2 separate regions of the Homo sapiens genome follow, and region 1 is linked to region 2. The links are contacts of gene promoters, found by promoter capture Hi-C in blood cells and fetal thymus (Javierre and others, 2016). All regions are on one chromosome and are shown on one strand. The core of a region is centred on a gene start or on the middle of the fragment in contact, and the rest is flanking DNA. Distances in the headings are between cores, read along the strand shown.

What was found. The method cuts DNA at HindIII sites, captures the fragments that hold promoters and counts their contacts. A CHiCAGO score of 5 or more calls a contact.
Region 1: a fragment that was not itself captured here is called in contact with the fragment with the promoter of OR2T4 in region 2 in 4 of 17 cell types (naive B cells, naive CD4 T cells, non-activated CD4 T cells and 1 more); the score reaches 5.8 in naive B cells.

Annotation. Positions count from the first base shown.
Region 1 is chr1:248,605,579-248,612,444 of GRCh38, reverse strand. No RefSeq gene overlaps it. Among named protein-coding and RNA genes, the nearest start is that of OR2T10, 11 kb to the right of the region's middle. The HindIII fragment of the contact is 6,444 bases long and covers 1-5,334 here.
Region 2 is chr1:248,357,674-248,364,768 of GRCh38, reverse strand. It overlaps OR2T4 (olfactory receptor family 2 subfamily T member 4), which reads right to left and starts at 3,104. Exons shown (of 1, transcript NM_001004696.2): 1 at 2,142-3,104. The coding sequence starts at 3,104. The coding sequence ends at 2,142. The HindIII fragment of the contact is 1,770 bases long and covers 1,449-3,218 here.

The DNA.
Region 1 (6,866 bases), core at 863-3,362, 250 kb before region 2:
CATCTGTGTGGGCTCATGTCCCCTTCACTGTGGTGTAACTTGAGTACAGTCAGTTGACTTCTGGATGTTTTCAGAGGGCCCAAGGCTTTGTGCAGGGTCTTTACTCATAGCTGAGTTCTTGGCCTTGGTTTCATGGGGAGGTATATTAGAGTATTTTTGGTGTCGAAGTTTGGGCTGTGATCCAGTAGATGGTGCTTAAGCATAATGGCCGGTAGATAGAGGAGCCGTGGGGCTGAACAAGGGCCTATTTTCTCACAATTGCAGGCTTGCTCCCTCTCAGTGCTCTGAAAGTGTGGGCTCCTCTTCCTCCTTTAGTGCTGGCTGTAGATCTCAGCTTGGTACTCCTGGGCTACAGGCCACACCTCTGGGGTGACTCAGGCTTTATGTTCCCCTCAGCCTGGAGGCAGTGTGAGCAGGGTCCTGGCAGTGTTGTGGAAGAGGGCCTTTCACATGTTTCTTGGGCCCCATCCCAGAGAAATGCAGAGCTGCTACCAATAGGTGTGGTCAGCCCAGAGTGGGGCAGCTGTGTTTGGGCCCAAACCAGGGGGCCCTGCGTGGTGACAAAAAAAATTCATGTCAATAATTTCTTATGATTAAAACTATATTATCTTTTTAAAACATCTTTTTCACTCTATAAATACATCTGTGAGTGCTATACATAATTTAAGACATAGATGGAACTAAAAGGAGAAATAAAGGTATAAAATAAATCCTACCACATTTACTATAAAATTTTTTCTTTGTAAAAATTTTAGTTTATTTTGTTTTTAATCGACTCATAACAATTGTATATTTTTATGGGGTATGGGGTGATGTTTTGACACATATATACATTGTATAATGATCAAGTCAGAATAAAAATTTTCAAAATAGGATTTTGAAAATTGTTTTTAATTGACAATTGTATATATATTTGGGTACAGTGAGATATTTCAATACATGTACACATTGTGGAATGACCATGTCATGATAATTAACATATCCATCTCACATACTTATTTTTTGTGGGAGAAAATGATATTTTTAATATATAGATACATAGATATATTAAAATACTATAGATTAGAATCATGCTGTATATAGCTCTACATCTGCATAAATATTCTTGTGTACATATTTTCAGTGTTTACTTTTTAAAAATATTGTTTTGAATATAACTTCACAATTTACCTTAATAACAGAATCTGAGTTTTCTTATTTCCAATGTAGATTTCTTCCAATTTTTTACTAATCTAAAACAATACTATAATGAATATCTGTGTAAGGAATTCCTTTATTGTATCGGTTATTACATTTTTATTAAACAGTGTCCCTTTCATGTTCATATACTCGGGTTGTACCCGTCAGTGATCTACCCCGGCATACCACAAAAGGCCGCACTGGTGTTTTCACTGACTCACAGCAACACTGATAATCACACATTTTTTTGCCTCTCTGTTATTCAACAAATTAATGGACATTTTTGTGCTTTTTGTCATTGTCTTATTTTGTATGTACAAGTCTTCCACAAATTGTTTACTAACATGTTTGTGTCATTTTAAAAATTGCCATGTCTGTCTTATGAATATGCAAGAGAATCTTACACATTACCGATCCTCAGCCTTTGATTCGTCATGTGAACCATAAATTTCCTAATTAGAAAAAATTTGTTTTATTCAGAGATTGTTTTCAGTTTTCAAATACTAATTTTACTTTCCATGTTTTCTTCATTGCCTTTGCTCACCGTTTAGCTAAATCTTTACCCATTCATGTGTCTTGTTTTATATTTTTATTTTCCACATGTAAACCTTTAATCGATTTGATATTTTAAATTAATGTGATAACAGGACCTAGTTTCACCTAACTTTTTACTAAATTTTCATAATAATTTACTGAGTAATGCTTCCTTAGTTCAGTGAATCACAATGGAAAGTTTGAGACTTGTAGTATTTTCCCAGAATTGTGTTGCAGTCGTGCCAAGGAACCACACATTTCACTGGTTAATTTTTTACCATAACCATTGACAATCTATTGAGGAGAAATAACTTTTCTGTTTTCATCAGATTATGGCACTAGAAATTTTCAGTGACTTTGTTGAGTAACATTTAATAGCTTAATATGCAGGTTTCGATTCTAAGTAGACCATAGCTTCATTAAGGCTGACCCTGATTAGTATACATGAAATGTTTAAACTTGTAAAACAAACTTTTGAATTTCTTTTAAAATGACACTTTAGTAAACAATTCACTACCTAACTCTTCATGCCTTTGAATGTGATTTTAAAAATTCACAGCTGAAATATGAAAAATAAATGTATAGTAATATTTCTGCAACAAAAGTCACAAATAGAGTAATGTGGTGGCTTCTTTAGTGTGGGTGTGTTTTAACAGCAAATTCTACGATAAATTTATAGCACAAGATCCTTGTGGCTGAATAGAGCACAATGATAATTTAAGCATCTTCAAATACTCAAGTTCTGTAGAACTTAGTATAGTTCCCTTCAACTCCAGGGAAATGTTGTGCCTCCTAAATTTACACACGTCTAATTTTTTTTTCTTAATTTTCTAATAGTTTCACCTCGGAAGTGTAAGCAGCTTACCTGGGTGGGAAAGCAGGTCATGGCAGGGCTGGCCAGGTCATGGGCCGGCCTGCCCTGGAATCCCCTGCAGACCTTGCTTGTCTCCAGCTCTTCTCTCAGGCTCTCCCACTCTGAGTGAGTCTCCAGCTAAATACAAGGCATGATGTAGAATTAGGAAATGGAAAGAAAGGTGCAATCACTTTTTTCCACGAAGGGAAAAAGCATAAGGAACACGGAGGAAACTGGGCTTCTCAGGAGGTCCCTGGGCTCTTCTATTCTTGCAGGTAATTAGGGGGCTAGTCCCGAAAGGTTACGAAGACCAAGAGAATTGTTTAAAATGCTTCCTTTGTTTTCAGTAAATGAACTGAGCTACCATTTTAACTGTTTTCAAGTTGATTGTTTTAAATTAATCCTCTCAATATAATTAAGTAGTGGATTTGCCGATTATAAATTCTAAATGTTGCCAGGCATTGGTTTATTCACTCCACAGTCAGGTGCCTGCTTTGTGCCCATTCCTATGCTGGTCACTGGGGGCACAGTAAGGACAAAAGAGAGGCAGAAAGATTTAAGACAATATCCTTTATCAGTCTGAATTAAATTGCATGTGTTATTAGATAACTAAAGATAGGAGAGACTGAAGAATTCAAAGCAAGGTTTACAGAAAAATGATGGAGATGAGGTTCTGATGTTTAAGAGAAATGATAAAAACAGCCAAATTTGGTCTCAGACATGTAACAATGGATAGGACAGAATATACAAGACAAGGCTGTAAAACATTGCGTCGCTTGGTGTCCTATGAAAGCTATGTAGCATATATAAAGGATCCAAAAGGTTTCAAATACATTTCAAAACTCATATCTGCCTAAAACACATAGGTAGCTAGGAATGGAAATACATTTACTTAAATATTTCGTTTTAGGCAACATCATATATCAAAAGTAAAAAGAAAGCTAAAGCAAAATAGAAAACATACAACATAATATCTACCAAAATTATGAAAAGTTGGTTCCCTTGAAATAAAGTTGAAATGAAATCTGATATTTCTTTGTAATAGAATTCAAATGCTACATGAGGGTCAAAGGAATCGGTATAAAGCAAAAACAGAAATCAATACTGAGGTGACAGATGTTAGAGAATAAATAGAAGATAAAAGTAAAATAAAAATATGTTAACAAATGAAGAGAAACAGCTTAAAAATAATGAAGGACCAGAAAAAGAGGCTTAAAAATCCTGAGGAAAATAAAGAGAGAGGTTAAAAAGTGTCAGTGGATTTGGAAACCAACAAAAAGGGTCAAACATAAATATTGTGGTTGAAAAATACATGTAAATGATTAGAATGAAAATGTACATGCAGATACTTTTTCAAAATGTGATATAGTATTTTCTATATCCAGATATGTCCCACAAAAATATGGTACTGTGTGTGTCTAAGTTAGAATTACTAGGAAATCTAGGCAAAATATCACAATATAGTGGTATTAGGCCGGTCTTTGAATTTTATTTATATTAAATGATAAAAAATAGAGCAATACTTAACAATATTTTAGTGGAATATCTTTTAAAAAACAAAGCCATTCTTTAAGATTTAAGAGAAAGGAAAAGTAGAATAGCCACATATATACATCACAATAAAACAGGTTGAGGACAAACCTTAACCCACCAAAGGATGCCTGGAGAAACTATAATGGAAAGGTTCCTGATAATATGTAAAAGCATTTAATAAAAACACATGAGAAAATGACTCTATATGAATAAGTAAATGAAGGTATGACTAAAATAGAAATGTAACAAACTGAGACAATATAGACTGTGATAACAATATAAAAAAATCTAGAAACTGGGGAGATGGATGTGGAAATGACTAATAAAGATGTCTCCTTCTACCAGTATTTACATGTCTTTTATTTTCTTTTATATCTTCACAAAATCCATACCTTCCTTGGCAGACCAACCTCTTTACAATTTATACTTGATGAATCAGTTAATACGGATATAATTATATGATTAAAGTATAGGGATATGCTAAAAGGTTTTAAGAGGAATAATGTAACTGAAAAACTAAAATTGAGTGCATGGTGGAGAGAGTGGCAAATGTGTAAATGTACTTAAATAGTAATTAGATTGTGGAAAAACTAGACATTTGAGCATATTATTTGAAATATAAGAGTAATCCAAAGATCTAAAAGAACAATGTGCTCTTCTGAGGTTGGAAAAAATGAATAAAATGAAAAAGTAAAAAATTTTAATTTTAAAAACCGAGCTCTCAAACACAAACACATAATTAACTATACATGGGGAGAAATAAAAAGTTAAAAAAGGAAGCATAGCAAAAATAAGGTGTCAGAAAAGAGACCAACCATTTCTAATTTCCATAAATTGAAATTGCATAATTTGCATAAATTGAACGGACAGACCTATTGAAAGAGAAAGGGTATTGAAGTAAAGGCAAAACCTAAATGTGTGTTGCAGAAGCCGAGGATACTGTAGTTGGCTTGCTTGTTTTCATCCCAACTTCTTCATATGTCTTTTGACTGGTAAAGCTGGAAAACTAAAATCTATGTATACAAACTCCATGGTATCTGAGATTCACCAGTAATTTAGGTTCTATTGATGAGGTGCACGTGAGGAGATTTAGATGGTAGAAGTGTGGAGGCCGCCTTGTTCTTTGGCTTTTTTCTTTTAGCACGGAGACGCTTTATTTTTCGTACAGCAGCTCACAGAATTGGGAGGTATGAACAATAGAACCAGCATAACAAGAATAATAAATCAACAAAGCTTGATAAAGGTCATATTGGGATTTTTGTACTATTTTAAGTGAAATCTACCTGTGTACCATGTAGAGACTTCCATCCAGCTGTCTTTGTCCAATTTGAAGAGTGTGATGATGCTTCACCACAGATATTGCACATGTTGTGAACCTTTAATTCTAGACCTGTATTTCTATGCTCGCTTTCTGGAGTAGGTTTCTTCTCACTCTGTTTTAGAATTGGTTTTTGCTGGCTTAGGGGAAACATACTGATTAATTAGTAGCCTACTCACTGAAATCTTACTAGGTTGCTTTTTATGGATTGTGTAGTTCCTGCTATGATTTATGGGAGATTTTGCATCTGAATCTTTTAACAACACTGTGTGGTAGAAATGATTATCGTCCCTACCAAGCCCTCTAGGGTCTGCCTTAGTCCACCTCTCCAGAAATCTTTGGCATTCTCCATCTCCCTCTCCAGGTGGAGCATATTGCACTTCCTCCCATTTTGGGACCACATCAAGATTATACAGTAACCAAACAGCATGGCACTTGTCCAAAAAACAGACACATAGAGCAACAGAATAGAGAACTCGGAAGCAAGGCCACAAACCAACAACCATCTGATCTTTGACAAAGCTTAAAACATAAGCAATGGGGAGAGGACTCCCTATTTAATAAATGGTACTGGGAAAACTGGCTACTCATATGCAAAAGATTAGAACTGGACCACTTCCTCACACCATTTACAAAAATCAACTCAAGATGAATTAAAGACTTAAATGCAAAATCCAAACCTCTAGAAACCCCAGAAGACAACCCAGGCAATACCTTTCAGCATATAAGAATGGGCAAAGATTTCATGATGAAGATGCCAAAAGCAAAAACTGACAAATGGAATCTAACTAAGGAGCTTCTGCACAGCAAAAGAAACTATCAACAGAATAAACAGACAACTTACAGAATGGGAGAAAATATTTACAAACTATGCATCTGACAAAGGTCTAATGTCCAGTATCTATAGGAAACTTAAATTTACAAGAAAAAAATTAAAAAGTAGGCAAAGGACATGTACAGACACTTTTCAAAAGAAGATATTCTTGTGGCCAAGAAGCATATGAGAAAAATCTCAACATCTGTGATCATTAGAGAAATGAAAATCAAACCCACATTGGGAAGCCATCTTACACCTGTCAGCGTGACTATTATCAAAAAGTCAAAAAATAACATGTTGATGAGATTGCAGAGAAAAGGGAACATATGCACTGGTGGTGGGAGTGTAAATTAGTTCAATCATTGTGAATAACACTATGGCAATTCCTCAAAGATATAAAGACAGAACTAGCATTCGACTCAGCAGTCTCATTACTTGGTATATACCCAAAAGAACATAAATTGTTCTATCATAAGGACACATACTTGCATGTGTTCATAACAGCACTGTTCATAATAGCAAAGACATAGAGTCGACCTAAACGCCCATCAATGGTAGACTGGATAAAGAAAATGTGATACATATATATCATGCGATACTATGCAGTCATGAAAAGAATGAGATCATGTTGT
Region 2 (7,095 bases), core at 1,855-4,354:
TCCTGTTCCACTGGTCAATGTGCCTTTTGTAATGCGTGTACCATGCTGTTTTGAGTGTCATAGCTTTGTAATATATTTAGAAAAAAAGTAGTGTGATGCTCCCCTTTTGTTCTTACTGTTCATATAAATCATTTTTTTCTCCAGTTCTGTGAAAAATGACATTGAAATGTGACAAGAATGTCATTAAATGTATAGACCCCTTTGGGTAATATGAAAAATTTAACATATTAATTCTTCCAATCCATGAATATGGGATAGTTCTCATTTATTGGTGTCTTCTTTAATTTCCTACATCAATGTTTTATGTTTTTCAGTGTAGATATTTAACCCTTTTGGTTAAATTTATCCCAAAGTTTTTGTTTGTTTGATTTGACACTATTATAAATAAAATTGTTTTTAAATTTCTTTTTCAGGTAGTTTGATGTTAGTGCATAGAAAAATTATTGATGTATGTTGATTTTGATTTCTGCAACTTTATGTGAAGGCTTTCAATTGTTCTAACAGAGCTTTTGTGGAGATTTTAAGTTTTACATGTTTAGGATCATATTGTCAAGAGGAAAGCAGAATCTGTAAATCTGAAGCCACTTGATTTTTCACAAGTTGGACACAGGCAATTGGAAAATGATACACCTGCAACTAGGTCTGTAATTATAATCCAATTGGTTTGACAAAGTCTCACATCCCTGCATACCCCAAACATTTCCTCTCCCTAAGTCCCTCCTGGTGGTAAGGTACACATCGTTCCACTGAGTTCGTGCATTTCACCATCCTCACTCACCTGGTCTGCCTGCCACCAGGTTTGCACTTCTCCAATCTATTGTCACCAAAGTAATATTTCTGAAATGCAAGACTGATCATTTTCTACTGTTTGTAAACATCTGGGTCACAGAAAGCAAGGAATTATTCCACAAAATAAAACAGGAAAGAAGGCACGATTAGAATATTTGCCACTCCTGCTTGGTCAATTGTCTGACCTTTGCTCTTGCTGTGCCTTTTCCCAGGCATAATCACATCCCTGACAAAGTCCCTCCCCCTTCCCCAGCCATGTGTAGTTATCTGAGGGGAACAGCTAGGCACCTTTAACACTGAGCTCCTGGGGCTGCACTCAGCATCTTCTGCTTGATTGAATGTGCACAGCACAGGAAGAAGCGAGGTGCCAGAATGAGCTATACCCTTTCCACATGTGCATCAAAGCATTTCATACACTTTATAGCACCTATTTGCACACAGAATTACTAGTTCAAATTTCTTGGGGAAAGCAGTATGTAGTATTCACCTTTGAATTTTCTTTAGTGAATATTTTAGATTTAATATAGCATAACAAATATTTACTGGATAAATGAACAATTGGATATTTGATACTCTACCTCTTCTTATTTGTCTAATAAATTACATACTTCAAAACTCAGCTCAGATGTCACTTTGTGCTGGAAATCTTCTCTAAAGCTTCTTTTCACCCCAGGCTAATATGTTTTCCACAGTCTCTTAACGGAATTCGGGATTCAAAACCCAGCACTTGATGAAGACTGTTAACCTCAATAACAGACCTTAATCTTTCAGGAACCAACCATGTGGGCCAAGACAGCCTCCAATAAGGGTGGACAAATGGCTGGATTGTCTCAGCAGTGAATAACTACATTGCAATCAGCAAGTTTTCTAAGATATTATATCATGTGTACTGCTCAAAAAAGGTGGGAGGGAGGGGACATATTTTAATTATTTATTTAAAATTAATTTCAATTTTACAGAAAATTAGCATAAATAAAAGTAGTACAAAGAACATCTATATGAACCCTTTTTCTTCCTCATTTCTCCCTCTCTCTCAATTTTATGCCTTATAACCTTTATCCTCTAAGTAGTATCATTATGTATTCCCAGAATATGAAAATATCCTATAGAATTAGAAAGTAGTTATGAACTTCAGTAACTGTAACATCAATATAATATGACTGAATAATGCATTTTGAAGTGAGACGGAGTGTAAATTGAAAAGTTTCTAGTACAGGAAAGCGATTTCTAAAAGAGGTGTGAAAATGAGATCAAACACCATGGCAGTCTTGGAGTCTGGGAAATAACACTGGTATAACATTCTCATATGTGAAGTGCAGAGAGAAGGAAAAGTAAATTACTCTCAAAATGGTCTACTCCATAGCTTTTTGAAAGGCAGGTTCCACTGTTAACATTTTCTTCAGAGCCCCCATGACATCCTTATTCCTAAGACTATAGATTAAAGGGTTCACCACTGGAGTGAGGATGGTATAGAAGACAGATACCATCATGTCCTTCTCAGGGGTGTGGTAGGAGCTGGGGAGCATGTAGGTGTAGATGGCAGCCCCATAGAAGAGGATGACCACAGTCAGGTGGGAGGAGCAGGTGGCAAAGGCCTTTTTCCGGCCCTCTGCTGAGTTCATCCCGTGGATGGTGAGGAGGATGAGTAAATAGGAGCTTGAAATGATCACCACAGGGATGAGGAGCATGAGGACACAGCACAAGTACATGAAAATCTCATAGAGTGAGGTGTCTGAGCAGGAGAGATTCAATACAGCAGGAACTTCACAGAAGAAATGATGAATCTCCCGGGATCCACGGAAGGGGAAGGTCATGGTGATGGGAGTGAATGTGAAGCCATCCACTGAGCCCAGGAACCAGCAGCCTGATGACAGGAAGAGACACACCCTATGGTTCATGAGGACAGGGTAACGGAGAGGATGGCAGATGGCCACGTAGCGGTCATAGGCCATGGTGGCTAGAAGGAAAAATTCTGAACCTGCTAGTGTCACGTAGAAGAACATCTGCATCCCACACTCAGGGGCTGAGATCTTATTCACACCCATGACCTGGTCCAGGAGCATCTTGGGCACAGTGACAGAAATGTACGCCATGTCCATGAGAGACAATTGACTGATGAAAAAGTACATGGGGGTGTGGAGGTGGGCGTCACAGTGTATCAGAAGGATCAGGACAGCATTTCCAGACAACGCCATCAGGAAAACCACAAAAATGACCACACAAAGTAGTGCTGGATGTTTGGATTGTCTGAAGAGTCCCAACAGGATGAAATCCGACCATCCAGTGTGGTTGGCCATCCAGGTGATATTGGCCATTGGATGTTTGGATTGTCTGAAGAGTCCCATCAGGATGAAATCCGACCATCCAGTGTGGCTGGCCATCCAGGTGATGTTGTCCATGAGGTTTCACCTAGGCCACAAAGGAAAGCTTGGGGTTAAAGTAATTTGAGCCTCTGAAACAAATTGTGTGTGTGTGTGTGTGTTCTAACCAAAGAAAGGCCCATGGGCCTGTAGATTTGGGTGTTATAAATTATCTGCAATTCAAAAAATTTACCAGGAACTAAGAATTCACAACTGTGGATCAAAAGGGTGATTTGTAGTGAAGTTGCCACAGTTCTGAGTCATGAGATTTCCCGATGAGAGTGTCTGTTATAAACAAGTCCTGGAAACTGGCAGTGTCACTGCCTTATGCAGACATGAATAGTGAATTATTGAAAACAAAGGAGAATTTTGTCCCCCTGTTTTTAGAGTTGTTTAGAGAAGTCTAAAGTGAATTACATTCTCTGGTTTAAGGATCCATCTGGAATCTTAAAAACTCCCAAAAGTGTATTCCATATAGGAATGATTTAGAACATGACTAAAATATCACTTGTGGAAAATCCATACCAAACATTTGCACCCTTCTACCCACAGTATTGGACAATGCTGTGAGGCTCTGTGGTTTCGTGGAGCAAAACCCCACACATCCCCATGAGCAAGCCAGGGTCCTCCTACACACCAGACTCCTCAGAAACCAGAGTCGCATGGGGTGAGGAGCCCAGGGACCGTGGCTGGACTGCAGGGTGGACCCAGCTTCCCCTCTACCTGCTATTCCTCTGTTTACTGCACATAAAAATAGATGGTAAGAAAAGGTTTGACCTCAGGGTTGATGAAGATTAAATGCAGAAAAGTAATGAAAGTGCTTAGAATATTACCAGTTACAAATGAACAAATACATACACTGTCAAAGAGTTAATATCTACACAAATTATTCTGCAGACTGTATTACTATAATCATCTTATGATATGAGCTTCATTACTTCAGTTTGCTGATTTTATCATTTAGTCAGACTTGTAAGAATTTGGATTTGATAATTTCTCTAGTCCCAGACAACTTGTATGTATACAGTTTACATTTATTTTATATAAATTTATAGATATGCATTTTTATATATGTGCAGATTTACAAATATAAGAATACATTGTATATGCATATTTACAAATAGAAATGCATATATTAATGTAAGGTATGTCTCTTATTTTCATGTTGAGCAGAGATTTATGCAGAATCCACCTTCTTTGTGACTAGTGCATGCTTCTCCAAGCTTAACTCCTTAAAGCTCCTGTCATTCGCATTAAATCTCAGGGGGGCATAACTGGGATTTAGAAACTCCCTGCTATTTACCAGGTAAGGCTTTTGGTGTTTTTGCAAATATCTGCTTTATTGCCTGCTACAGTGAATTTTTTCACGGAAACTGTGAGGCAGAAAAGAAAATAAAACACTAAGATGTCTCTCACTTCAATTAAATTCCTTCCTCTATCTTGCTACTCACAGCCTGACTCTGTGTTAGCTAGTGCAGGAATCAAAGACAAATTATATTTGATTAAGCTTGAGGAGGTCACAGTCAGTCTATTCAGGAAAAAACATATAAACATGATTTAAAGTACAACTTCAGATTAGAATAGCTATGAGCTACATTAACAAGGCTAATAGAAGCAAAATACATTTAACCTTTCTGAAGAGAATCACTGATAACTCCTACATTTTCTCTTAAGAAGATTAAAACTTTGCAACTTTTCGATTTCTGACATGTTGTTAAATTTTAGTATTTATCAATAGGAAGAAAATATAGGGTCCTTTTTCAGGGAAGACTTTAGCAGTGGTTATCATACAGTCATATTTCAGGAAGAATTTCCAAGTTTCAAATACATTTTGAATTCTTTTAATAATTCTAATTAGACTTATTAATATTTTCAAGTTTTGGAGAATAATAATTAGATGCGGAGACTGGGCAGCTGTTTGCTAAGTGAATGGAGGGAGACCAAGAGGGCAGTGCGGGATGGGAGGTGGATGCTGGGCAAATCTCTGCTGCACTTTTGTAAATGGAAGTCCCTGTCATTAAGCCACGCTGAACAGCTGACCTGGGACACCAGATCAGTGAGGGAAAACTGTGACTGCAGCATGCAGCACAACTGGACTTTTTCTTTCTTTTATTTTTCTTGATCACATTGCTTGAGTTTCCAAACAGCACAATGCATGTTTAACCCAGGGAATAATTAATAGTGGTGGTAGGGCAATATTGAGCATTTATGTGAAGCTTACAGTATCCTAGGAATTGTTCTTAATGCCAGTTTACCACATTTAATTTTCCTCAAGAACCTATGAGGTATATAATCTAATTTCACCATTTACAGATTTAAAAGTTCAAGTTCTGGGGTATCTATCTAACATCACACAGCTAACCCCATGGAGTAAGTACATCGGTGCAGGTGCGGGACCCAGAGCATGTCACTTACCTCAGTTCTCTTGGGGACACAGTCCTGCTTCCGTAGACTAAAATTTGGGTTTTAGATAACTCACTATTGGTTTCACCAGGGAAACATAAATATGATTGAAACATTTGTTGCTAGTGTTTTCTAACTCTAAGACCTAATTTCCATTCAAAGAAAAATTAGTTGTTTTTCCTCTGCAAAATTTTCATCCCACTAAAACAAATGTATCATTCAATAACAGAGGAAGAATATATATGATTTTGTCCATAAATACTTTGGAAATGAAAAACCCGTTTACTAATATGTTGCAGTAAATAAGTATTATATAAAATGAGACTCAAAGGAAAAATAAAACAGATTGGCTTTTCTCCATAAAAATAGATGATAGAGGGAAATGAGGAAATACAGTCAAGAACTAATAGAAATGTTTCAAAAGCAGAACAAGTCAAGAACCGTGACCATCTTTTGTTCCTGCAATACTGTCTACCTATCTGGTGTAACTCACCATCAGATGATGTCTTGACCCTCATTTGGAGGGGCTCATGGTGTGTGGCTGGCTTAAGTGTGCAAAGAAAAACAAAAGTGACATCATCCCTGGCTTCACTGTGTCCATTAGGGGTGTAGATAAAAGTTTTCTGTTAATAAGTCCTCTCTGGGGTTTTGAAGACGAATGCAAATAAAGGAGCTAAAGAAGCTAATAGATATCTCTGTTGCCCTTTTCTGATTTTCTTCTCATTTTTTTTTAAGCGACAGAATCTTACTATGTTGCCCAGGCTGGAGTGCAGTAGATTTTTACAGGTGAGATCACAGTGCACAAAGGCCTCGACCTCCTGGCCTCAAGTGAACCCCCTCCACATCACTCTCCTGAATAGCTGGTACTACAGACACACACCACTGTGCCCAGCTGTTTTGTTGTTGTTATTTAATCTTCTTTTATTGTTAAACTGAAAATCTCAACAAATATTAACAATAATCTCAAAGTTAGCCATTACTAATGAATTTTTACCTATGATATATGAGTTAGTTATATATGGCCTTTTGTGTTTTACACAATATTTTCATGTGTATGTGCCTCCTCCTTTAAACTTTAGGAAATTTTTATAAAATATTGCTATTTGTGTTCCAATCTTTCACAAATATAGGCTTTGAAACTCAGAGTTCAGTTGATGTGTCAAAGAGAGTATCGCTGATCAGTAATGAACTCCATACTAAAATTGAGGTTGTCTTTTTCACATCTTCATTGCTATCACTCTTCATTAGCTTGTTATGTTCTTTCTTCTGTTATTCACCTGCAAGCTCTGTTACTTTAGTGATGCATTTAATTTTAAAGTTTGTTTTTATTTTAAATATTGATATGACTAAAAAATCTAAAATCACAGTCTAGTACAAATAAAATTTAAAAATCAACCATAATGTAATAGTTCAGATAGAAACAAAACTTTAAAATTCATGTCTTGACTTCATACTATGAATATTTATGAAGTGTACACCATGTAGCAGACAGTTGGAATAAAATAGGTAACTAGGTGGAAGCAACTCCACCCTCTTGGATCTT